7 separate regions of the Homo sapiens genome follow, and regions 2, 3, 4, 5, 6 and 7 are each linked to region 1. The links are contacts of gene promoters, found by promoter capture Hi-C in blood cells and fetal thymus (Javierre and others, 2016). All regions are on one chromosome and are shown on one strand. The core of a region is centred on a gene start or on the middle of the fragment in contact, and the rest is flanking DNA. Distances in the headings are between cores, read along the strand shown. Region 1 holds the start of RPP38 (ribonuclease P/MRP subunit p38). Region 2 overlaps FRMD4A (FERM domain containing 4A). Region 3 overlaps FRMD4A (FERM domain containing 4A). Region 4 has its middle 76 kb from the start of MIR1265. Region 5 holds the start of LOC124902381 (a long non-coding RNA gene). Region 6 overlaps FAM107B (family with sequence similarity 107 member B). Region 7 overlaps FAM107B (family with sequence similarity 107 member B).

Region 1 (3,087 bases), core at 354-2,853:
AGGCCTAGCTTAGTTGAGGGGGGTGGGAAAAGGCAGTCCTCACAGAGGAACTTTTTTTTTTTTTTTTTTTTTTGAGACGGAGTCTCATTCTGTCGCCAGGCTGAAGTGCAGTGGCACAATCTCGGCTCACTGCATCCTCCGCCTCCAGGGTTCAAGCGATTCTCCTGCCTCAGACTCCCGAGTAGCTGGGACTACAGGCACGGGCCATCACGCCCGGCTAATTCTTGTATTTTTAGTAGAGACGGGGTTTCACCATGTTGGCCAGGATGGTCTCGATCTCCTGACTTTGTGATCCGCCCGCCTCGGCCTCCCAAAGTGCTGGGACTACAGGCGTGAGCCACCGCGCCGGGCCGGACCTCTTAACCTACATCTAAACAATGCCTACCAAAGGAAGTATGGAGTAAAGAAAGGTATCTCAGTATTAAAAGAAATAAGTTGGCTGGCGAGGTGGCTCACGCCTGTAATCCCAGCACTTTGGGAAGCCCAGGCGGGCGGATCACTTGAGGTCAGTAGATCGAGACTAGCCTGACCAACGTGGTGACCCGTCTCTACTAAAAATACGAAAATTAGCCGGGCGTGGTGGCAGGCGCCTGTAGTCCCAGCTACTCGGGAGGCTGAGGCAGGAGAATCGCTTGAACCCGGCAGGCGGAGGTTGCAGTGAGCCGGAATCGCGCCACTGCACTCCAGCCTGGGCGACTGCTATGTCTCAAAAAAAAAAAAAAAAAAAAAAACACGTTCAAATAAGTTCAATGTGGCTGGGGCAGAGATGCTAGAGAAAGCGGTGAGAAACTAGGAAAGGTGGGTAAGGACCAGATAATGAAGACCTTTGCAAGCGTTCCAGTGTGAAGCAACTTTAACATCTAAAGCAGAGGTGTCGTGATTAGAAAGACGTTATAGATCTTTGTGGATCTGGGCAAAGGAAGAGTCCCCGAGCAGCAAAGACGCTCCTGGAGTCGTCCAGGTTAGAAATGACGGTGGCCTGCACTAGAGACGCCGCAGAAAGGACTGGAGAAAAATACATGTTAGTCGGAAAAGAAGGTAGAATCTCCCGACACAGTAGTGACCAGCTGGAAGTAAAGTTGAGAACGGTATTGGTGGTGACTCCCGGTTTCTGGATCCCGCCGGTAGCCGAGGGGCGACGGCCGACCCAAAGCTCACCTCCCCACTGCACGCCGCCCCTGGATCGAGTACCTTGGTGCTTTACTATTTAGCACACGGAAGTGTTGTTCTGTTGTCCGTGTCTCCTTGGAGACCGTGGAGAACAGAAGGGCCGGCGGGGGTTTTCGCTTTGTACTCCTGGTGCCCAGCCGGCGCTGCAATCCAGCAGAGGAGCCGGACTAGAAACGCGGAAGCTCTGGGTGCACGCGCCCGGCCCGGGACTGGGCGGCCCAACCGGGAGGGCGGCGGGTCCTGCGGCCACGCAACAGGCGTTGGGGAAGCAGCAGAGACCCTGCGTGCGCGCGGGCTTCGGCCTCCAGATTCCGCAGAGTCCCGGGCCCGATCCCCCCGGGGCTGGCCTCCTGCCCTACGTGGGCCCCGCGCGCCCACCTGGAACTCACGATGGCGAATCCGTGGTCACCTGAAGGCAACAGCACCGGCGCCCAGTGCGCCTGCGCCGCGCGTGCGCAGAGCCCTCGCCTCCCGGCCTCGCCTCGCAGACGCGACGGGCCGGGGAGGAAGCGCTCGGAGCAGTGCAGGTTTCGTTATCCTGTGTTAGGTCACTCCGGAGAGGGGAAAGCGGCCCACAGCGTCGCGCGACCCGGAAACGACACAACGAGGCCCAATCTTTTAGACTCGAGTTTAGGCCCCGGGGTGGAGTCTCCGGACCGGGTCCCCCCACCCCCGCTACAGGGGCAGTGCGCAGGCGCGAGGTATGTATCGCGAGACCATGCGGTTGCCCGGGTAACCAGACGCTCAGGACTTGGACCGTCCAGTTGTTCGGAGGCCAGCCTATAGCCAATGGTATCCCGAGGGCTCGCTCTCTCCGGGCGTTTGTGCTCCCCTCTCTCTTCTAACCCAGTTTCTACCTTTCAGTGCTTTGGAATCTTAGCCCTCTGTCTCTATTCGCTTTTCTGTATTTGCCTTGCCTCAGGGACGCACAACCCCAGCCCCTGTCCCAGTGAGCCCGTCGCCATGGAATCCCTGCAGACTCCCCAGCACCGCGAAAATCAAGATAAAAGGGAGAAGGAGTATGGGGTAAAACACATGCCTATGGGCAATAATGCAGGGAATCTTGAGCCCGAAAAGAGAAAGGCAGTAAGAGTTGCCTTGAGTTCAGCAACAGCTGCACAGAATATCCCGTCCAGTGTCCACTGTGGCTGCTCCAAGCAATGGAGACTCAGGCTACCATCGGAGTCGCTGCAAAGTCGGGGACAAGTGATGAAGCGGCCGAATAACATTTTAAAGCTCAGGAATCTGGATCTGTTGATCTACCCTTGGCCAGAACTTAGAAGACGGCAGGTTGCTTCTGACCTAATGAGCCTCCTCCTTCTCCCCGCTTTTTCCGGCCTTACTTGGGCCCCCTTCCTTTTCCTCTTTACGTATCTGCCTCCTTTTCTCAATCTCCTCACTGTTGGTTTTGTATCCTATTTTCTGGTATAGTTTCTGTGATTTCTTTCTTTTATTTATTATTATTATTGTTGTTGAGACAGAGTTTTGCCCTTGTTGCCCAGGCTGGAGTGCAATGGCGCGAACCTGGCTCACTCCAGCCAGCGCCTCACAGGTTCAGGTGATTCTCCTGCCTCAGCCTCCGGAGTAGCTGGGGTTACAGGCACGGGCCACCAGCCCAGCTAATTTTTGTATTTTTAGTACAGACGGTGTTTCACCATGTTAGTCAGGCTGGTCTCGAACTCCTGACCTCAGGTGATCCGCCCACCTCGGCCTTCCAAAGTGCTGGGATTACAGGCATGAGCTACTGTGCCCAGCCTCTATGATTTCAATTTTCATGTTTAAGTACCTATGTAGAACCTAACTGTCCATAAGTAAACACAACAAAAAAAAGATTTGGCTTTTGGTCAAAGATCATTGGAGGTTACACAGGGTAAAGTGCAGTATGATTTTTATCACAATTAGAAAGATTAAAAAGAG
Region 2 (3,087 bases), core at 428-2,927, 910 kb after region 1:
TGTAATATCCTATGATCTGATATCATGGAGTTAGGCTCATAATGCCTTTAAGAAATCACATCATTGCTTTTATAGAATGCAAGCTGTTTCTTGTTATAAGGAAGAGTGTCGCCCTCCCTCCCTCCCTCCCTCCCTTCCTTCTTTCCTTCCTTCCTTCTTTCCTTCTTTCCTTTGAGACAGAGCCTTGCTCTGTCACCCAAACGAGAGTACAAAGGCATGATCACAACTCACTGCTTCCCCAAACTCCTGGGCTCAGGCAATCTTCTTGCCTTAACCTGATTAGTAGCTAGGAATGTGCACCGCCACACCTGACTAATTATGTTTTTTTTTTTTTGCAGAGACGAGGTCTCAGTATGTTGCCCAGGCTGGTCTCAAAACTCCTGGGCTCAAGCAGTCTTCCCTCCCTGGCCTCCCAAAGTGCTGTGATTATAGGCATGAACCACCATACTGGTCAGAGAAGGGTATTCCTTAAGGGTACAACTTGTGTCCAAGGCCACCCTGAACAGTCAAAGCTATGATCTTCTTTGCCAGTCTCCTGGGGATCCTGGGGCTGAGCGCAACATCTGCATCCTCAGAGGCTGATAACCCTCCCTTCTCTCATGAGGATATGAAGATAGGTAAGAAGGAAGAGGATGCATGGTCTAGTCCTTGGGTCACCTGAGACTGAACAGGAGAGAAGCAGGGTCCCTAGACCATCATGTTTGTCATGGAGCCAAAGGGTCACTGCCCAGTGTGCCAAGACTATGACACCAGGTTTGTGAGAAAAGCAAAGCTTTTATTGTTCCCAGGGAGACAGGAGTCCAGCTCAGATCTGTCTCCCTCTGCTGGCTTCAAGGGAGTAGTTTTATTAGAAGAGGTTTACGGGGTGGATTCTGGGATTAGTGGGTGATCGGTGGAAGGAAAGGGGAAACCTAGAAAGGTCTTGGCATGAGCAGTTATCTCTTCATGCCTCCTCATGGGTCGCATGTGCAAATTCAGGGGGCGTTAGTACGAAACGTGTGGTGGTAGTTCAGACTGTGACATCACAGGCTGGTTCTGTACAGGCTCTGGTTGGTCATATTGATTCCAACCAATTGTAGCCTGTTTTGTTATCCCATAAGAGGAGGGAGTTTTAGCATTTTGGCCAGTCTTTTTTTTTTTTTCTTTTTCTTTTTATCTGCGATTTTGTAAGCTCAATAAATTCTGTTAGTCATTGGTGTCTTTGTCTCTTTGGACGATGGTTTCCAGTGTCTCCTTTACGGGGGTAGGTCCCAGCCCGCACTTCTGCCCACTGCTGTGCTCCATCACCATGGACCCTGCACAGTTGATCCTCTGGCCTTGTGCTTTTCCTCTCACCTGATGCACATCATTCTGCTCCAGCTGCCATCTTTGCAGTTCCTGCCCAGTCTCTCTCTGCCCTGTTGCTGTTACCACTTTATCTCACTCTAACTCTATGGGAAACCTGGCCATGGCTGTCTCCACTGGGCCCTGCCCTGTCTACCCTATTCCGCCCAGGACTAGTCTGGATTGTACGTATCTGTTGCTTTGGCTGGTACTAGCCTGGTCTACTGCTGTTGCCATCCCTTCTCTCTAGAACTACTGAAGGTGCCACTGTTGAGCTGCTGCTATCCTCTCTTCTGCTCATCTGCACAGCTAACAACCGCCCCTGCAGCTCTCTGACCATGAAGTATATATCCCCTTTCTGTCTCTCTACCTGTTTCTCTTTCTTACAAGACGAGATTGAACCTTTAAATAGTCTTGCTTTATGTTTCAAGTTTCCATAGTTCTACAACAAACCTCCAAAAAATACTTGAAGTTAGAAAAATTACAAAATGTTGTAATGTTTTTTGTACTAATTTCTGCCACGACATCCTCATCTGTACTAGCTCTCCTTACGCTTAGGGTGGTAGATTTTTTCATGCACATTCTACAGATTTTAGGGTTTAGACACACAGATCTCTCACTATGGATATCTAGAACTAAATGAAAAAATGAAAGACTCTATCTCTACATCCTTCTGCTGGGATCTCTCAGGAAGCAAGAGTCTTATGCAAATAGTTTCCGGGCTTCTTGAAATAGACATGCAAATTAGAACCCACAGTGGCTTTGGGCTACACCACATTATACACATAACAGGAAAAGGAGGATGAAAGGTTCTTTCTGAGCTATATGCCTGGGAAAACCTGTTCAGACACAGACATTGGCAAAAGATGATCAGCATATGGAGGGGCCTTGGGTTGATTTAACAAAGAAAAAGTATCAAGGCCCAGGGACCTAGATTCAAAGCATTCCTTTCTCCTGGGTTTTGTTTTCTCTCATTCCGCGCTCTCTGATTGTGTAACTGTCTAAACAAATTCAGACATGAAAGGGAAACACCCTACACGACTTTAGCGGTCGCGTTTGTTTGTGCTCCATCGCAGTACCCACGCAGTTGTATCCGGGCAGGCCATGCACGAAGATGTGGTAAGGATATCTATCATTTCCTTAAAAAATAAAAAATAAATAAATAAGAAAATGCGCCTTTATTCTCCAAACTTCTCTTCTTTCATATCTGACTTATAGCCCATGAGCCACACATTTGGGCTACTTTGAAAGAAAGCTTAGGGGGATTGATTTCACTGAGAGGTAGAAACAGAAGCCATGCTCTGCCCGGCCTGGACGTGTGCTTCTGGGAACGTTCAGAGGCTCCTCAGGAGACGGGCACGGTGCCTTGTATAAAGCACTTCAGCCTTTGTTGAGCAAACAAATTCCCTTAAATTGGAACAACAACAAAAAATACCTTTTTTAACATTGGAGAAGTAGTAATTTCTCCATTTTTTTTAACATAATAGAATAGAAAGTTGGCTAAGAGAAGCTAGATAAATAACTGAGATTACTCAACAAGCTGGGTATAGAAAATGGGTTCAGTTGCAGTGGCTCACGCCTGTAATCCATCCCAGCACTTTGGGTCAGGAGTTCGAGACCAGCCTGGCCAACATGGTGAAACCCCATCTCTACTAAAAAAAAAAAAAAAATTAACCGGTTGTGGTGGTATGCACCTGTAATCCCAGCAACTCTGGAGGCTGAGGCAGGAGAATCGCTTGAACCCAGGAGGCAGAGTTTGCAGTG
Region 3 (3,087 bases), core at 203-2,702, 890 kb after region 1:
TGGTGCTGGGTAGAAGGGCACAGCTCACCTCCTCTCCCTGGGAGAAGAGATGCAATTTGGAGCTACCCTGGGACACTTTTTCTGCAGCCCCAACAAAGACTTACTGTTGGAAGGATCACAGGGGATGTCTGTCTGTACCCCAGGCATCATCTCAGAGCTCTGTGCTGCTTCATTACACCACACAGGTCTCCATCACAGAGAGAAACACCAGGCAGCCACTTCCCCAGTGCTGAGGCATCACTGAGAGATAATCAGGCTTTTAAGCCCTTCAAACTTAAATCTCTCTCATGGCAGCCCCTCTGCAACTTCCATTAGGAAATGGGTTTATAATGTGCTATAATGCATGACAGTTTTCACACTAATTTGAATCATTCTTGTGATTCTTACTTAACTGTTAGTTGCCAGCCTCAAACGCTTCGAGGACTTTGGAACGTTGAAATACATCACGATCCAGCCTGGCCTGTGGTAGACACACAATTATCATTTGCTCTGATGGGGATAGCAGGCTAAGCTGGAGGAGGACCCAAGATAAGTAGAATACAATCTTTGACCCTAAAGATCTTATCATGGCAGGAGAAAGGAGGATGGGATTTAAGAGAAATAGGAACTGGCTCTTGACAGATAGCACGCATGATACGGTTTGATTCCTATAGCAGTTCTGTAGAAATACCTGAACCTCTGTCTTCTGGTCCATGCAATAGTGATGCGTGCCTTAAGGAGCTATTTTGGAACACAGTAATTCAAAGCTTAGGCCCTCAAACCAGACCCACGTGACTTCAAACCCAGAATCTGCCTCTCACTGAATCAGGAACACTGAGCAAGCAGCCTCACTTTTCCAAGCTTTGGTTTTCTCCTACCTGTTCATTGGGGATTATGACAGTACCTGCCACATAGGGTTTTTGAGAGGATTAAGTGATTGACATGCTTAGAATAGAGCTAATACAGTGTAAGCTCTCAAAAAAATTAGCTAATAATGTTGTTTATATTCTCAAACATTATACATTAATTTATTTGACTAGTACTGTTATACCAGGGAAGTGAGATGGGGGGATAGGAACCTAGTTCTTCTAAACTAAAAATTTCATTTTCTTTCCCCCATAAGATAAAACTTCCTAAAAATTGAATATCTGGCTGAGCACGGTGGCTCACACCTGTAATCCCAGCACTTTGGGAAGCCAAGGCAGGCAGATCAGAAGGTCAGGATTTCGAGACCAGCCTGGTCAAGACGGTGAAACACCATCTCTACTAAAAATACAAAAAGTTAGCAGGACATGGTGGCATGCACCTGTAGTCCCAGCTACTTGGTAGGCTGAGGCAGAAGAATCACATGAACCCTGGAGACAGAGGTTGCAGTGAGCCAAGACTGTGTCACTGCACTCCAGCCTGGGTGACAGAGCAAGACTCCATCTCAAAAACAAACAAAGAAACAAACAACAAACAAAGACGGAAATCCACAGTCAAGGCCCACATGATACAGTGCGGCTATTGGAGATGCTTACGACTGACTCCTTAGGGGCCAGGACCCTGACTTGTCCATCTGTGGTCTTTAGCACCTACTCCTGGCTGGCACATATTAGGTGCTCAGTAAATGATACTGAAGGTCCATGCTGTGTGGTTGAGTTTGAGCAAATATAAGAAGGCAGGGTATTGCAGGGTATGTGTTCAGGGACCTCATTCCAGGACCTCTGGAATTCAGGGGTTATATTAGTTTGTTGCATGTTAGTCTGTTTGGGCTGCTGTAACAAAACACCATAAACTAAGTAGCTTATAAACAACAGGAATGTCTCCCAGTTCTGGGGCTGGGAAGTCCAAGACCAAGGCGCCAGCAGATTTGGTGCCTGGGTCTCACTTTCTGGTTCATAGATGGTACCTTGTCACTCCATCCTCACATGGTGAAATGGGCAAAAGACCTCCCTTGGGCCCATTTTACAAGAGGACTAATCACTTCCCAAAGGCCTTATCTCCTAATACCATCACTTTGGGAGTTAGGATTTCAATGGAATAATTTTGGGGAGATATAATCATTCAGGCTATAGCAGGCTGGCACAAAGTATCACAAGCTTGGTGGCTTCAAACAACAGAAATTTCTTCTCTCACTTTTCTGAAGTCCAGAAGTATGAAATTGAGATGCCTGCAGGGTTGGCTCCTCCTGGAATCCTTCCTTCTCTCTTTGTCACTCTCCTTGCCTTGTGGCCTCATCACTCCAATCTCTGCTTCCATCTTCACATGGCTTCCTCCTCTGTGTGTCTCTCCTGAGCCTTTTCTTTTGGGACAGGGTCTCACTCTGTCACCCAGGTTGGAGGGCAGTGGCATGATCACAGCTCACTGCAGCCACGACCTCCTGGGTTCAAGTGGTCCTCTCACCTCAGTCTCCTGGGATTAGCTGGGACTGCAGGCATGCACCACCATGTCCAGCTATTTTTTTTTTTTTTTTTTTGAGACAGTCTCGCTCTGTCGCCCAGGCTGGAGTGCAATGGCACAATCTCAGCTCACTGCAAGCTCCGCCTCCTGGGTTCACACCATTCTCCTGCCTCAGCCTCCCGAGTAATTGGGACTATAGGTGCCCACCACCATGCCCGGCTAATTTTTTGTATTTTTAGTAGAGACGGGGTTTCACCATGTTAGCCAGGATGGTCTTGATCTCCTGACCTCAAAGTGCTGGGATTACAGGCGTGAGCCACCATGCCCACCACTTTCCTTATGAGGACTCTTGTCATTGGATTTATGGCCCACCCTAATCCAAGATGATCACATCTTGAGGTGCTGGATTTAACTACATGTACAGATTTCTTTTTCCAAATATCAGCACTTTCACAAGAACCAGGTAGACATCTTTGGAGGGAGCCTATGCAATCTGCCACAGGAGTGTTAAAATGCCAGCGTGGATAGAGGCACCCAGAAATCCAATTATTTTGTCAAATAACTTGACAAAATTATCAAGTGTCAGGAGAAGAAAAGTGTCAGGAGAGACACACAGAGGAGGATGCCATGTGAAGACGGCAGCAGAGATATTGGAGTGATGAGGCCACAAGGCAAGGAAAGTGAGGAAGAGAAAAGGAAGGATTCCGGGAGGAATCCTTCAACCCT
Region 4 (3,087 bases), core at 181-2,680, 580 kb after region 1:
TGGGCAGTATGGCCATTTTCATGATATTGATTCTTCCTACCCATGAGCATGGAATGTTCTTTCATTTGTTTGTATCCTCTTTTATTTCCTTGAGCAGTGGTTTGTAGTTCTCCTTGAAGAGGTCCTTCACATCCCTTGTAAGTTGGATTCCTAGGTATTTTATTCTCTTTGAAGCAATTGTGAATGGGAGTTCACTCATGATTTGGCTCTCTGTTTGTCTGTTGTTGGTGTATAAGAATGCTTGTGATTTTTGTACATTGATTTTTGTATCCTGAGACTTTGCTGAAGTTGCTTATCAGCTTAAGGAGATTTTGGGCTGAGACAATGGGGTTTTCTATATATATAATCATGTCGTCTGCAAACAGGGACAATTTGACTTCCAGTTTTCCTAATCGAATACCCTTTATTTCCTTCTCCTGCCTAATTGCCCTGGCCAGAACTTCCAACACTGTGTTGAATAGGAGTGGTGAGAGAGGGCATCCCAATCAATAGAAAAAGAGGGAATCCTCCCTAACTCATTTTATGAGGCCAGCATCATCCTGATACCAAAGCTGGGCAGAGACACAACCAAAAAAGAGAATTTTAGACCAATATCCTTGATGAACATTGATGCAAAAATCCTCAATAAAATACTGGCAAACCGAATCCAGCAGCACATCAAAAAGCTTATCCACCATGATGAAGTGGGCTTCATCCCTGGGATGCAAGGCTGGTTCAATATACGCAAATCAATAAATGTAATCCAGCATATAAACAGAACCAAAGACAAAAACCACATGATTATCGCAATAGATGCAGAAAAGGCCTTTGACAAAATTCAACAACCCTTCATGCTAAAAACTCTCAATAAATTAGGTATTGATGGGACGTATTTCAAAATAATAAGAGCTATCTGTGACAAACCCACAGCCAATATCATACTGAATGGGCAAAAACTGGAAGCATTCCCTTTGAAAACTGGCATATTTATTTTTATATTCTCCTACATATTCTGTTATACTGTCCTTTCTGGGCTTGCAGTAATTTTACCAAGACTAAAAGGAAAGAAATCCCCCCTCAGGCTAACTGAAGGAGCAAGATCTGGGTTCTTGACTGATTCTTAGGATGGAGGGCCTGGCAGCACAGTCCACGCTGCTGCAGTCATGGGCCATGGGCCCTGGACAAAGTCCTTCGTTAAAATTAATTCTTCCTTGCTTTGTCATGGAATTTTTAATATCTTGCCATTTCTTCTTTCATTTAGGAAACTTGGTGTCCTTCCCAGAAGTGGATGCTTTCATTTTGCATAGTCAGCCTGACCTACTCATTGTCTTGCCTTTTTATGATCTGTTGATCTTGTCCGTTAGTGTAATCGAAAACTTACATATGCCTGTGAATATCTCATGTAACTAGGATCATTTTGAGATTTTGTCTAGTAGAACCATCAAGTCTGTGTGGTGAACGCTTGTCCCTGAGATATTTGGCTATTTATTATCTTTGGACATAACTGCTGGATCCTCTTTTATTTGTGATCACATATGATCAAGTAGACTCCTTTATTTGTATTTATTATATGTGACCACTGATGACGATTTTATTTTGTTTTTTTGAGACAGAGTCTCAGAATTCTGTTATCCAGGCTGGAGTGCAGTGACGCGATCTTGGCTCACTGCAGCCTTGACCTCCCAGGCTCAAGCAATCCTTCCACCTCAGCCTCCCAAATAACTGGGACTACAGGCATGCACCACCATGTCTGGCTCATTTTTTTTTTATTTTTTTTTGTAGAGACAGGGTCTCACTATGTTACAGCTCAGGCTGGTCTTGAACTCCTGGCCTCAAGTGATCCTCCTTCCTCAGCCTCCCAAAATGCTGGGATGACAGGTATGTGCAACTGCGCCTGGCTTCTTTTGTCTGTTTGTACTATGTTTTTCTAGTTTATCTTATGATTTTGTTTATTCCTATAAGGATAGCTAGAAACAAACACATGTCTATGGTTTATGAAAATGTATATTCTTCATACAACATATAAAATGTCCACACATATATGAATAGTCCCTTAGCTATATCCTATAATCATCTTAATTTTGTATTACAACTCCTTTTTCTCTTGGAGTCTCTATGAATGTGTGTCCCTTTATAGACTCACCTTATAATTTTCATCTCCTTTTTTGGATGCTCAGAATATTACAGCTTGACTGGTGGAAGTCCTTCAAGCTTATTCTTTTGTTTTTGTGGGGTTTTGGTTTTTTTAAAAGTAAAATATTGCTTTTGACAGTTATGGCAGCATCCTTACTTTGTTACAACAATAGGATGTTTGGGGCCATCCTAATTTTTTTTTTTTTTTTTTTTTCTGACGCAAGACATAGGACTGTGTGCCTTTCAAGAAGTCCTGGTTTCTTTTTTGATGAAGAGTAGAAACAGAGATGATCTGGCACTAGAGGTGCACAAGAGAGTTGCTAGTGGACAAAAGTGTCCTTGCACCTGTAGTAATGACAGAGCTAAAGAATGTGAACTCATCCTTGTTTTTCCATTTCAACCCTTTATGTGGTTCTACCTTATTTTTCTTATGAGATCTTATTAAACCAGAAATATTTCCATTACACTTAGAAAGATTAGTTGCGATATTTTCTTTACAGATAAGAGTTATGAAAGGGAATTTACCAGACCAGATACCGAAACACACCTTCAAGCAACAGTAATTTAACTGGCCCAATATTGTCTCAGAGAAGACAAATTGTTCAATGGAGTGGCATAAAAAGTCCAGAAAATGACTGACTTGCGTGTCAAAATTTACAATGATTGAGGTGGGATTTTATTTCAGATCAGTTAGGAAAGGGTAAACAATTCAGTGAAAAGTTTTGGGGCAACTGGAACGAAACAAATATATATTCCTCTACATAAGAATCATTTCCAAGTTTATTAGTGTTCAGCATAAAAATAAAACTGTAGAATTATTAGAAGAAATTATAAGGGAATATTTCTATAATCCTAGTGTTGGAGGAGGCTTTCCTAAGCATAACATTTAGCCCAAAATCTATAATGAAGAAAACTGACAGATTTAACTAGTGAAAATTAAATGCTTTTGTACAAGAAAGATGTAAGAAAGGTTAA
Region 5 (3,087 bases), core at 287-2,786, 560 kb after region 1:
CTGTGCACCCCCTTTTCCAGCTCCAGTTGTGAAGAAGGACAAACCAGTGAAAAAGAAGGAAGATGTTTGCCCCTGTGTTGACAGCATATACATATACTTCACCACACTGTCCCACGGAAAAACATCCTCCTGGGCTGAAATCCTAAATGCACTACACGCACTTCTGTGCAGCCACAAGTGTCTGAAAAGTCAACCGCAGCCCCCCCCTCCTGCACCGGCTCGCAGTGCCCGTGTCTCTCTAATAGGAGACAGGCTTGGGTGCCCCTCACCCCACTGGTCCTATGTGAGAAGAAAGATTTCCAAGCAACTAAATCTAAAGAGAAGTCAGAAAAACATCCCAAGCTAGGGCCTGTTTCCTAGATTCAGAACTAAAGTCATTTCATTCTGTGCACTGGAAGCTCAACCTCCCTCCTGGCAACAAGGCCCAAGTCATGTTTGCACCTCAACACTGACGTCCAGGAAAGGCTGAGTGGGCATCTTATGCTGTCTCTAGTTGAGGGGGAAGTGGGAGTGCGGGACAGAGGATGAGGGGACGGAAAGCGGAGGGCAGGCAAAGCCTGAGACTGCAGAGGGCCAGTCAGTCAGGTAAACGAGAGCGAGTCAGTCAGGTAAAGGAGAGCGAGTCACCCAGGCTTGAGCGCTGGCTGCACTTGCCCTCTCAATGTCACCTCTTTCATGTCGATCAGACGTCTCAGACTCGACACGTCCTAGATCCACTTGCTCTTTCAGCCTCCCGTCATGGCAACTTGAGCCTTCTGGTTGCTCAGGCCGGAAACCTCCAAGTCATCCTTGATTCCTCAGTGCTTTTCACGCCTCGTGTCCAGTCCTTCAGGAAGTCCCAGAGACTTTACCTTTAAAATACATCTTGAATCAGGCTCTCCGCCTACCTATGCTGCTGCTGCGTGAGTCTAAAGCATCTCTCACCTGGATGACCTTTGCATCTGCCGCCCTGCCTGCCTGCAGCCCGTTCTAAACCTGGGAGCTGGAGTAATCTTTTAACTCATGAGTCAGATACCGTCATTACTCTGCTCAGAACCTGGAAATGACTCCCCATGGCCCTCAGGGTGAAGACCAGAATGCCAGCACTGGTGTTCAAGTTCCCACGCTCTATATCCTCACCATCCCTCCCTCCCCTGCAGCCAGCCTCGCGCTTTGCCATTCCTCATCCCCCCCAGGCACCCTCCTACCCTGTGGCCTTTGCATGCGCTCTTCTCGCTGCTGATCACGGCCCGCTCTTCTGTCACATTCCCTCCAGCTCCTCCCCAAATGTAATAACGAGGTCAAGGTCAGAGGCAGTTGTCTGTTTGGGTTTGGCATCGTGGAGATTATCTATGGTGAAGGGCAGAAATACGGAGCCTTTTATGGAAGTGTGTAGCCTTCTTGGTCTATGATTAACTAGAAGGAAACTGCAGTTGATTTTTCAGACACTTGTGGCTGAGCAGAGGTGTATGTAGTGCATTTAGGATTTTGCCGAGGAGCACGTTTTTCCATGGGACAGTGTGTTGATATCAGGCTGGCTGTGATGGGTTCCCTGAGTCACCCTCTGCGAGGTTTGTAATTCTCAATTCAGTTCAGGTTGCAGGCATTCTTGTTGTTAAAAGAGCAATGCAACTAGTGTCTGAGGAATGTTTGGTGTAATTTATTATATATGCCTTACTGTTTGATAATTTTGAGCCTAATCATGGAGTGATATTTAAGATATTTAAACAAATGTTGCAGCTACATTATTTTTCAGTTGACTTAGCCTTTGGATTTTCATTCTCTTTATTTTCACATTAACTTTGTAAAGATGTTGCTTTGGTTTGGTGGACAGAACATAACACGGGGAGGTGCTGGGGGCAGGGTCATACTTTTCAGCAGGGCAGCTAGGAGGTCAGGCCTCTCTGAGAAGGTGACATTTGAGGAAAGGCCTGGAAGGATACAAGCAGGATGAAGCCCACAAGGTGCTTAAGGAAGGAGACAGTGAGCAGTGTCACAGGCCAGCGAGCACCGTGCTGAGAACTAGAAGCCTTTTCCACTGGCACAGGGTCAGCATTGATATGTTTGTAGCATAGATTGATTTGCTGAGGCTGAAGGATTAGCAGTAAAGGACCTGGGTCCGGTGCCTATTGACCAACAAGTGAAACAACAAGCACTAAAACTTAGAGAAATCGCAGTTAGATTTATTTGGAGCCAAGTTTGAGGACTTACTTAAGCCTGAGAACACAGACTCAGTGTAGACTGAGAATGGGTTCCAAAGTAAGTTATGTGAGGCGCAATATATATACGTTTCATTCCCTTTCCTTTTCTATTTTGTTTTGTTTGAGACAGAGTCTCTCTCTGTTTCCCAGGCTGAGTGCAATGGTGCGATCTCGGCTCACTGCAACCTCTTGCCTCCTGGCTTCAAGCGATTCTCCTGCCTCAGCCTCCTAAGTAGCTGGGACTACGCCACCACGCCTGGCTATTTTTTGTATTTTTAGTAGAGACAGGGTTTCATCATATTGGCCAGGCTGGTCTCAAACCCCTGGCCTCAAGTGATCTAGCCACCTTAGCCTCCCAAAGTGCTGGGGTTACATATATGAGCCACTGTGCCCAGCCTCTTTTTTTTTTTTTTTTTTCTTTTCTTTTAGAGATATGAGGTCTTGCTCTTGCTCTGTCACCCAGGCTGGAGTGCGGTGGTGCAATCATAGCCCACTGCAGCCTCTCAACTCTTGGGCTCAAGTGATTCTCCCACCTCAGCCTCCTGAGTAGCTGAGACTATAGGCATGTACCACTATGCCCAGGGCATTTCCAATGTTTTTTAAACATATGGGGTCTTGCTATGTTGCCCAGGCTGGTCTTGAGCTCCTGGCCTCAGTGATCCTCCCACAACAGCCTCCCAAAGTGCTGGGATTACAGGCATGAGCCACCTTGCTCGGCCTTGTATTTTGTAACAGGGGAATACATGTGGCACAGCGGTGGGCGAAGCAGGCAGTGAAGCAGCGGTTTCAGTCCTGTGATTGTGATTGGTGGTCACAGAGGCTGTGCATAAGATAAATAAGGTAAATATGCAGCTGAGTGGGTAGGAGAAAGGTTAGGCATCTTAGAGTCTGGTGGAGGGTGACTGAT
Region 6 (3,087 bases), core at 463-2,962, 550 kb after region 1:
GATAAAGCCAGAAAGGTACAAATAGGGACTATTGAGACTGGCATTTCAGTGGATTAAACTATAGAAGGAGAAAAAGATATTCCTTAACATTGGTGATAATATGTTGTTATCAGGTATAATGATTTATAGTAATGGTAATACAGATATTTTTTTTTCCAGAGCTAATACATTTTGTAAGTGGAAAATAAGGTTTATGTCTTCAATTCTAAAGATTCATAGATGAAATTAGGAAAATAGTGTCCTTAAAAAAAAAAAAAGGAAAATAGTGTCCTTCCTAATTAACATGTCCCATGTACCACTGTGTTTATGTACTTTCTACTATAAACTGAATTTTAAAATCTTGAATAAAGTATACTCACAAATAATTGGAATCTTACTCAGTTTGACATTTGTAAGATTATCGGCCGGGTGAGGTGGCGCACACCTGTAATCCCAGCACTTTGGGAGACCAAGGCGGGCAGATCACCTGAGGTCAGGAGTTTAAGACCAGCCTGGCCAACATGGTGAAACCCCGTCTCTACTGAAAATACAAAAATTAGGCGGGCATGGTGGGCGCCTGTAGTCCCAGCTACTCAGGAGGCTGAGGCAGGAGAATCGCTTAAAACTGGGAGGCAGAGATTGCAGTGAGCCGAACTTCATCTCAAAAAACAAAACAAAACAAAACAAAATTATAAACCAAAATGTAGAGAATGACTTTTAGATTTTGTTCTTTCAACTCTGAGTTGCCTCGGAAAACTTTTAAAAGAATTGTCTCATTTTTCATGGCCTTTGTGCTACATTTTTAAGTACTTAATCCATTTAAGGAGGTAAAACTATCCTACTGTAATTAAGCTGTTCAGATTAATTTTTTTAAGGCATAAAGGAAGTAGTTAGCTATGATGATCTGTATTTTCTTGTTACATAATTATTTTACAATTGTTCCTCTCGAAGTGATGAGTGATTTCCTCTATAACCAGCTGTCAGTAAAAGACAAGTTTTCATTATGAGTATGTTAACGTGTCCTTTGTCCTTGTCCTTTTCATTTAGTTAAAGTAACCAGTAGCTCCTATTTATGTGAACTTGAAAAAGGTACTGTTAAAAAAAGTTCTGACCTTTGTGATAAGAGCTGTGAGTGAAGTCAAAGCTGATAGGATGCTGGGTTCTTGGGTAATGAATCCTGTTACAACAAAAGAAATGAAAGCATGACAACTTGGGTAACTCAGGGAAAGAAGCCGATTTCTCCATTTCATGTGGACTTCGTATCAGGTGGAGCATTTACTTAAGGGGTGCCACGCCACCTTTTTCTGTTCTTTCCCTGAGTCATACTGCTGCTGTAGGATTTAAATCCCTCGATGGTGTGTTGAGACTTTGGGCAAACATCACTTGACCATAGAGTTATTAGGTAGTAACAGACTTGATTGCAATGCAATGAATTGCCAGAGTGAGTAACTTGATGGAGGATATGTATTGGTTCTTGGGGCAAAAGTCCTCATACCTGACAGCCGAGGACTAGAGCTGCAGACTCAGTGGTAGGTGGTGGTTGTTCTCACAGACTTGTGTAGTGGGGAAGGAGTGACTATTAAGGCTTTGTTTTGAGAGAGACAGACAGAGAATTGACTTGAGGATGGACGCTTACAAAGTAGACATGAGATTACTGCAGTAGTCCTAAATGATCCTTAAAAGCATCCTGTTGGAGTCAAGATAAATCGGATCACTTCACTTCTATAGGATCTGGATTATGACTGATGTCTCTGTTCCTCATCACTAAAATGAAGTGGTATTTCTCGAAGGCCTCTTTTAACTCCAGAATTAGATGAATTTTTGAAATGTTGAATATTTTCTAAAACAGCCTCCTTTCCATTCCCGTAAGAAAAACGGTTGTTATGCTCTATAGACATGTGGCACCCGATGTCTGGGTATTTACCAGTGAGCTCTTTGTTTTTAGGCTTTCATCATTCTGTGTTCCTTGTTTGCCAAGTAGGATGCTCACTTGCAGGATGCGGTCATTTTCCCATTCAGCTTTTAAGTTTTCCTGTGTCTGTTACTGTCCATACAGATAGTGAAAGGCTTCAGCTGAGTCCTGTGGGGAGATCACTTCGAGTTTCTGGGTTTGGGTGTGCTGTGATGGGGTGACTGAGATCACTGTCGGTGGTGAATGAACGGTCTCATGGAGCTGGGGTTGCCCTGCTTTTGTTTACTCGTGACTCTACAGGGCAGCCTGTGGGAAAATGGCAAGGCTTGGCGTCCTGGAACCACAAGCCTCCAGAGGGAGTTGAATTAATGTGCAGAGTTGAATCAGGGAAAGTTCAGAGGCAGTGTAGTTTACTCCCTTATTCCAGTACCCACACTCACTACAAATGTGTTTACATTTAAACTTTTGCCAAAGCCCCCTTAGTTTAAAAGGGAGGCTTCACATAAATGGAAAAGCTGAGGCCAAAAGGCCTAAACTTCTCTCATCTTTATTGCTTATTGCAGCTTTTATTATAGATGCTGCGAGTACTCAGCACTTCTAAGAAACTCCGATTGCTCTTGTTTCCCTTTCAGCTTGGAGCTGGGATCCAGAGTAGTTAACTGAGGGGCCTCGCAAGCCCCTTGTCAGGAGGATGGCCTGCCTTTGAAGGCAGTTGACTCTTGTATGTGTCTTAGTCTCTTTAGGCTGCCATAACAGATGCCACAGACTGGGTGGCTTAAACAATAGATGTTGGTTTCCTCACACTTGTGGAGGCTAGAAGTCCTAGATCAAGGTGCCAGCAGATTGGGTTCCTGGCTTGCAGACAGCCGTCTTCTCATTGTGTCCTCACATGGCATTGAGGCTGGAGAGTACAGGGAGAGAGATTGAGAAAGAAGGAGCTCTGGTCTCTTTTCCTCTTCTTATAAGGACACTGATCCCATCATGTGGGCTGCAGCCTCATGACCTCATCTAAACCTAATTACCTTTCAAAGGTCCCACCTCCAAATACTGTCACTTTGGGGGTTAGGGCTTCAACATAGGAATTTTGGGGGGACTCAGCATTCAGTCGGTGTGTGTGTGCGTGTGTGTGCGTGTGCATGTGTACTTGTAGAGGAGGGTTGATTGTCCACCTGACAGCCGTTGCCATCCCCTCTTCC
Region 7 (3,087 bases), core at 317-2,816, 530 kb after region 1:
TGGGTGGCCACTGTGGAAACAGCATTTCCAGTACCTGTCGGTACTTGTCTAAGGAGATTTAATGCTCTCCTTCCTCTTGGGCAGTCATTCTCACAGTGGCTATGGCTTGTCTTGCTACATACACTGTGTAACCACCCTGCCCTGCTGGGCCTTGGTGTACACAGATATTGGGTAAAAATCTAATGTTGACCTAGATAAACATCACACACACACACACACACACACACACACACACACACCCACCACATTTTTTTGGTAGGTACGTTTTCAATGTCGTTTCATTTCAGAAAAAATATGGGCTACCCTTATATTAACATAGGACACTCAATTACCTTGTATGCATTCACATTTATTTACATACAGTTTTTTTCTGTAGCAATGATAAATGCAATCCTAAGTAATATTGGCTTAATATTTGGATGCTTTAATTTATAAAAGCTTTCCCTTTCTATGGCTCATGACAGTGATTTATATATTTATTGGTAGCTCTGTTTTAGAAAAGCGACTGAGTTGCTGGGTGTTTCTGCCCTAGTTTCTGGTTTCCGGGAACCTCTGGGCTCGCCCAGCCTGCCTGGTTGGCTGTTGGCTGAGGCTGGCCAAGGTTCTTGAAACTGTTGACACCTGTGAAGCTCTCTGTCCATCTCAGTAGGCGCGAGAGTCCCAGATCTTGTTTGGGGAAGCACGGCCTTGCATTGAGGAGGGAGAAGGGAAGAAAGAACTTGATTATTTCAGAGAAGAGACAGAGGAACCTTGGTTTCCCTCAAGGTCTTAAGTCTGGAGTACCTGTCACTTCTGCTGACCTGTGAGCTGACTGTGTGAGGGCTCCACCCCTCCAGTCCTGGCCTATTTCCATCTTTCCCAAAACTTGAGAGGAAGGTTACACTGAACAGAAGTACCTGTGTTGTTCTTGAGTTGAGGAATTTTTTTCTGCTATATTTTTTTCTAAATGATGCTAAAGTTTTTGCTGGAACAATATGTTGAGTCTGTCTAGCTTCCGGAGGACTTAGATCACCACATGTTATGATCTTAACGTAACACATGTGTGCATGCATGCATGCACACACACACACATATGTGCACAATGCAAACTGCAGCTCACCACAACACAACATGTACCCTCCCCTTCCTTTCATGGGGATAGGATAACTCGAATCTTCCTTCTGACTTTTATTGTCAAGAAATATTTTCTACACTCTCTATTTCTATATCAGTTGTTGGCAGTTATATCTGCAAACCCATGAGGGTTTTCTGGATTCAGATAACACACATCATTTGTGGAATATGAGGAATTTAAGGAGACTCGAGGGTGGGCAAAGATTTGAATAAACATCAGAACGAGGATGATTATTTGTGAAACAGACCTTTGAGAATTGAGTTCCAAGAGCAACAGACCTTTCGATGAGAACCAAAAAATTCATTCTGTAGCTCAGAAAATTCCTAACTTCATTTCTTCAGGATAAACATGTCATTATACCAAATAGCAATCTCAGTGTGTTAAAATCTACCTATGCACTGTGTCCCACAGACATCGTCAGATGCCAGCTCTCCTGGTGTTGCCATTTATTATGTTGCCGACGATTCTGGGATTTAGGATCCCACCTTCATGCCCTGTCTCTCCCCCTCCTTCCAGGTTCCTGGGACTGCTCTTTGCCTCCCCCTTCCACCCCACCCTCTCTCCCTTCCCCTCCAGCCTCTTCCACCAGGTGCTGTGCTCCTGCCTTGGGATCAGCCAGCTCCCATGCTGCCTCCTTCCCCAGTATCTTCACCTCCTGGTCTAACCCAGAGATCAGCCACCCTTCTCCTACCCGAGTATCTTCACCTCCTGGTCTAACCCAGAGATCAGCCACCCTCCTCCTACCTGAGTATCTTCACCTCCTGGTCTAACCCTGAGATCATCAGCCAGCCTCCTCTTACCTGAGTATCTTCACCTCCTGGTCTAACCCTGAGATCATCAGCCAGCCTCCTCTTACCTGAGTATCTTCACCTCCTGGTCTAACCCTGGGATCATCAGCCAGCCTCCTCTTACCTGAGTATCTTCACCTCCTCGTCTAACCCTGGGATCATCAGCCAGCCTTCTCCTCCAGTATCTTCACCTCCTGGTCTAACCCTGGGATCATCAGCCAGCCTCCTCCTCCCCCAGTATCTTCACCTCCTGGTCTAACCGAGAGCCACTCTCCGAGTTCAGTGCTGCCTTGGCTCCCTTGGGAATGGGAGTGCACCTTCTCCCACCCTGTATGTGCCTTGGGATCTGGAGGCAGGGCTTAGGTTCCTGCCCTCATGGCCACTTTTGGGTCATGACCCTTCCCCTCGCTGCTGCTTTGAGCCTTGTCTCAGTCGTATTCTGTCCTCTACCCTCAGTGCTAGCATTTCGTGGTCGTAGCTCCTCATTCGTTCCTTGAAAGTTTTGGCCCCTGGCTCACAGTCATCTGCTGCAGGGGTCAGTATTTGTCAAAGCTCACCGGGGACTCCATGGCAGCCGGAGCTGAGTGACCAGCAGCCTGGTTTGCCTGAGACTGGAGTGGCAGCAGGAGCTTTTTGGGATGGGGATGTTCAGTCTGAGGACTAAGGAGTTTCACAGGACGCAGGACTTTCAGTGCTCAAACTAGGAGGAGGAGGTTACCCTAAAAAGACACTGTTAATACCAGGAACCGCTTCTGAGCTGAAATCCAGAGATCCTACTCACCAGAAGCTTCTGTCCTTCAGCTCAGCTGACAGATTACAATAAGAACATCAGATTTTTCCCATTCCAGGTCCCTTTCCAACCCCTCTGCTCCTGCTGGACTTTGCCTCTGCTTTTGAATTCCAACATTTCAGCGATGCGCTTGTCAACGCACTGGAATCCCTTACTTCACTCTCCTGGGGGATTGGGCGGCCCACCCATGCCTGTCCCTGGACTTCTGAGTTCTGCCAGAGAAAGTTACACAGTTGCCTCTCTATGATCCTGATCTCTGCCTCACCAGGGCCTCAACACTGCCTGGAAATCAAATTTTCCTCATCAACCCTCTTCCTCTCCATAATGACTTTTCCAACCTCCTCCACACTTCTTAAATCTCTAGGTTCATACTGAGCCCATCCCTCCTCCTCTCA

What was found. Contacts are between HindIII fragments. The CHiCAGO score rates a contact against its expected background, and 5 or more counts as called.
Region 2: a contact is called between a fragment that was not itself captured here and the fragment with the promoter of RPP38 in region 1, in 5 of 17 cell types (total B cells, total CD4 T cells, naive B cells and 2 more). The highest score is 10.3, in total B cells.
Region 3: a fragment that was not itself captured here is called in contact with the fragment with the promoter of RPP38 in region 1 in 1 of 17 cell types (total B cells); the score reaches 6.0 in total B cells.
Region 4: a fragment that was not itself captured here is called in contact with the fragment with the promoter of RPP38 in region 1 in 2 of 17 cell types (neutrophils and monocytes); the score reaches 6.5 in neutrophils.
Region 5: a fragment that was not itself captured here is called in contact with the fragment with the promoter of RPP38 in region 1 in 8 of 17 cell types (neutrophils, monocytes, megakaryocytes and 5 more); the score reaches 9.6 in neutrophils.
Region 6: a contact is called between a fragment that was not itself captured here and the fragment with the promoter of RPP38 in region 1, in 1 of 17 cell types (neutrophils). The highest score is 6.5, in neutrophils.
Region 7: a contact is called between a fragment that was not itself captured here and the fragment with the promoter of RPP38 in region 1, in 1 of 17 cell types (neutrophils). The highest score is 5.6, in neutrophils.

What each region holds. Positions count from the first base shown.
Region 1 is chr10:15,095,871-15,098,957 of GRCh38, reverse strand. It overlaps RPP38 (ribonuclease P/MRP subunit p38), which reads right to left and starts at 1,603. Exons shown (of 3, transcript NM_183005.5): 1 at 1,192-1,603. RPP38-DT (RPP38 divergent transcript) reads left to right here and starts at 1,639. Exons shown (of 2, transcript NR_160789.1): 1 at 1,639-1,871; 2 at 2,093-3,087. RefSeq lists enhancers at 896-1,035, 1,096-1,185, 1,487-2,058 and a silencer at 1,326-1,685. The HindIII fragment of the contact is 10,027 bases long and covers 1-3,087 here.
Region 2 is chr10:14,184,205-14,187,291 of GRCh38, reverse strand. All of the region lies in intron 2 of FRMD4A (FERM domain containing 4A), which reads left to right. LOC124902378 (a long non-coding RNA gene) reads right to left here. Exons shown (of 2, transcript XR_007062060.1): 2 at 830-2,462. Among named protein-coding and RNA genes, the nearest start is that of FRMD4A-AS3, 110 kb to the right of the region's middle. RefSeq lists an enhancer at 1,679-1,728 and a silencer at 2,009-2,068. The HindIII fragment of the contact is 1,806 bases long and covers 775-2,580 here.
Region 3 is chr10:14,209,069-14,212,155 of GRCh38, reverse strand. The region is part of intron 2 of FRMD4A (FERM domain containing 4A); the gene reads left to right. Among named protein-coding and RNA genes, the nearest start is that of FRMD4A, 120 kb to the left of the region's middle. The HindIII fragment of the contact is 1,220 bases long and covers 843-2,062 here.
Region 4 is chr10:14,511,440-14,514,526 of GRCh38, reverse strand. No RefSeq gene overlaps it. Among named protein-coding and RNA genes, the nearest start is that of MIR1265, 76 kb to the right of the region's middle. The HindIII fragment of the contact is 1,525 bases long and covers 668-2,192 here.
Region 5 is chr10:14,531,050-14,534,136 of GRCh38, reverse strand. All of the region lies in intron 2 of FAM107B (family with sequence similarity 107 member B), which reads left to right. LOC124902381 (a long non-coding RNA gene) reads right to left here and starts at 1,261. Exons shown (of 3, transcript XR_007062063.1): 1 at 1,188-1,261; 2 at 669-851. The HindIII fragment of the contact is 5,949 bases long and covers 1-3,087 here.
Region 6 is chr10:14,548,760-14,551,846 of GRCh38, reverse strand. The region is part of intron 2 of FAM107B (family with sequence similarity 107 member B); the gene reads left to right. Among named protein-coding and RNA genes, the nearest start is that of MIR1265, 110 kb to the right of the region's middle. The HindIII fragment of the contact is 5,215 bases long and covers 1-3,087 here.
Region 7 is chr10:14,567,386-14,570,472 of GRCh38, reverse strand. The region is part of intron 2 of FAM107B (family with sequence similarity 107 member B); the gene reads left to right. Among named protein-coding and RNA genes, the nearest start is that of MIR1265, 130 kb to the right of the region's middle. The HindIII fragment of the contact is 2,251 bases long and covers 441-2,691 here.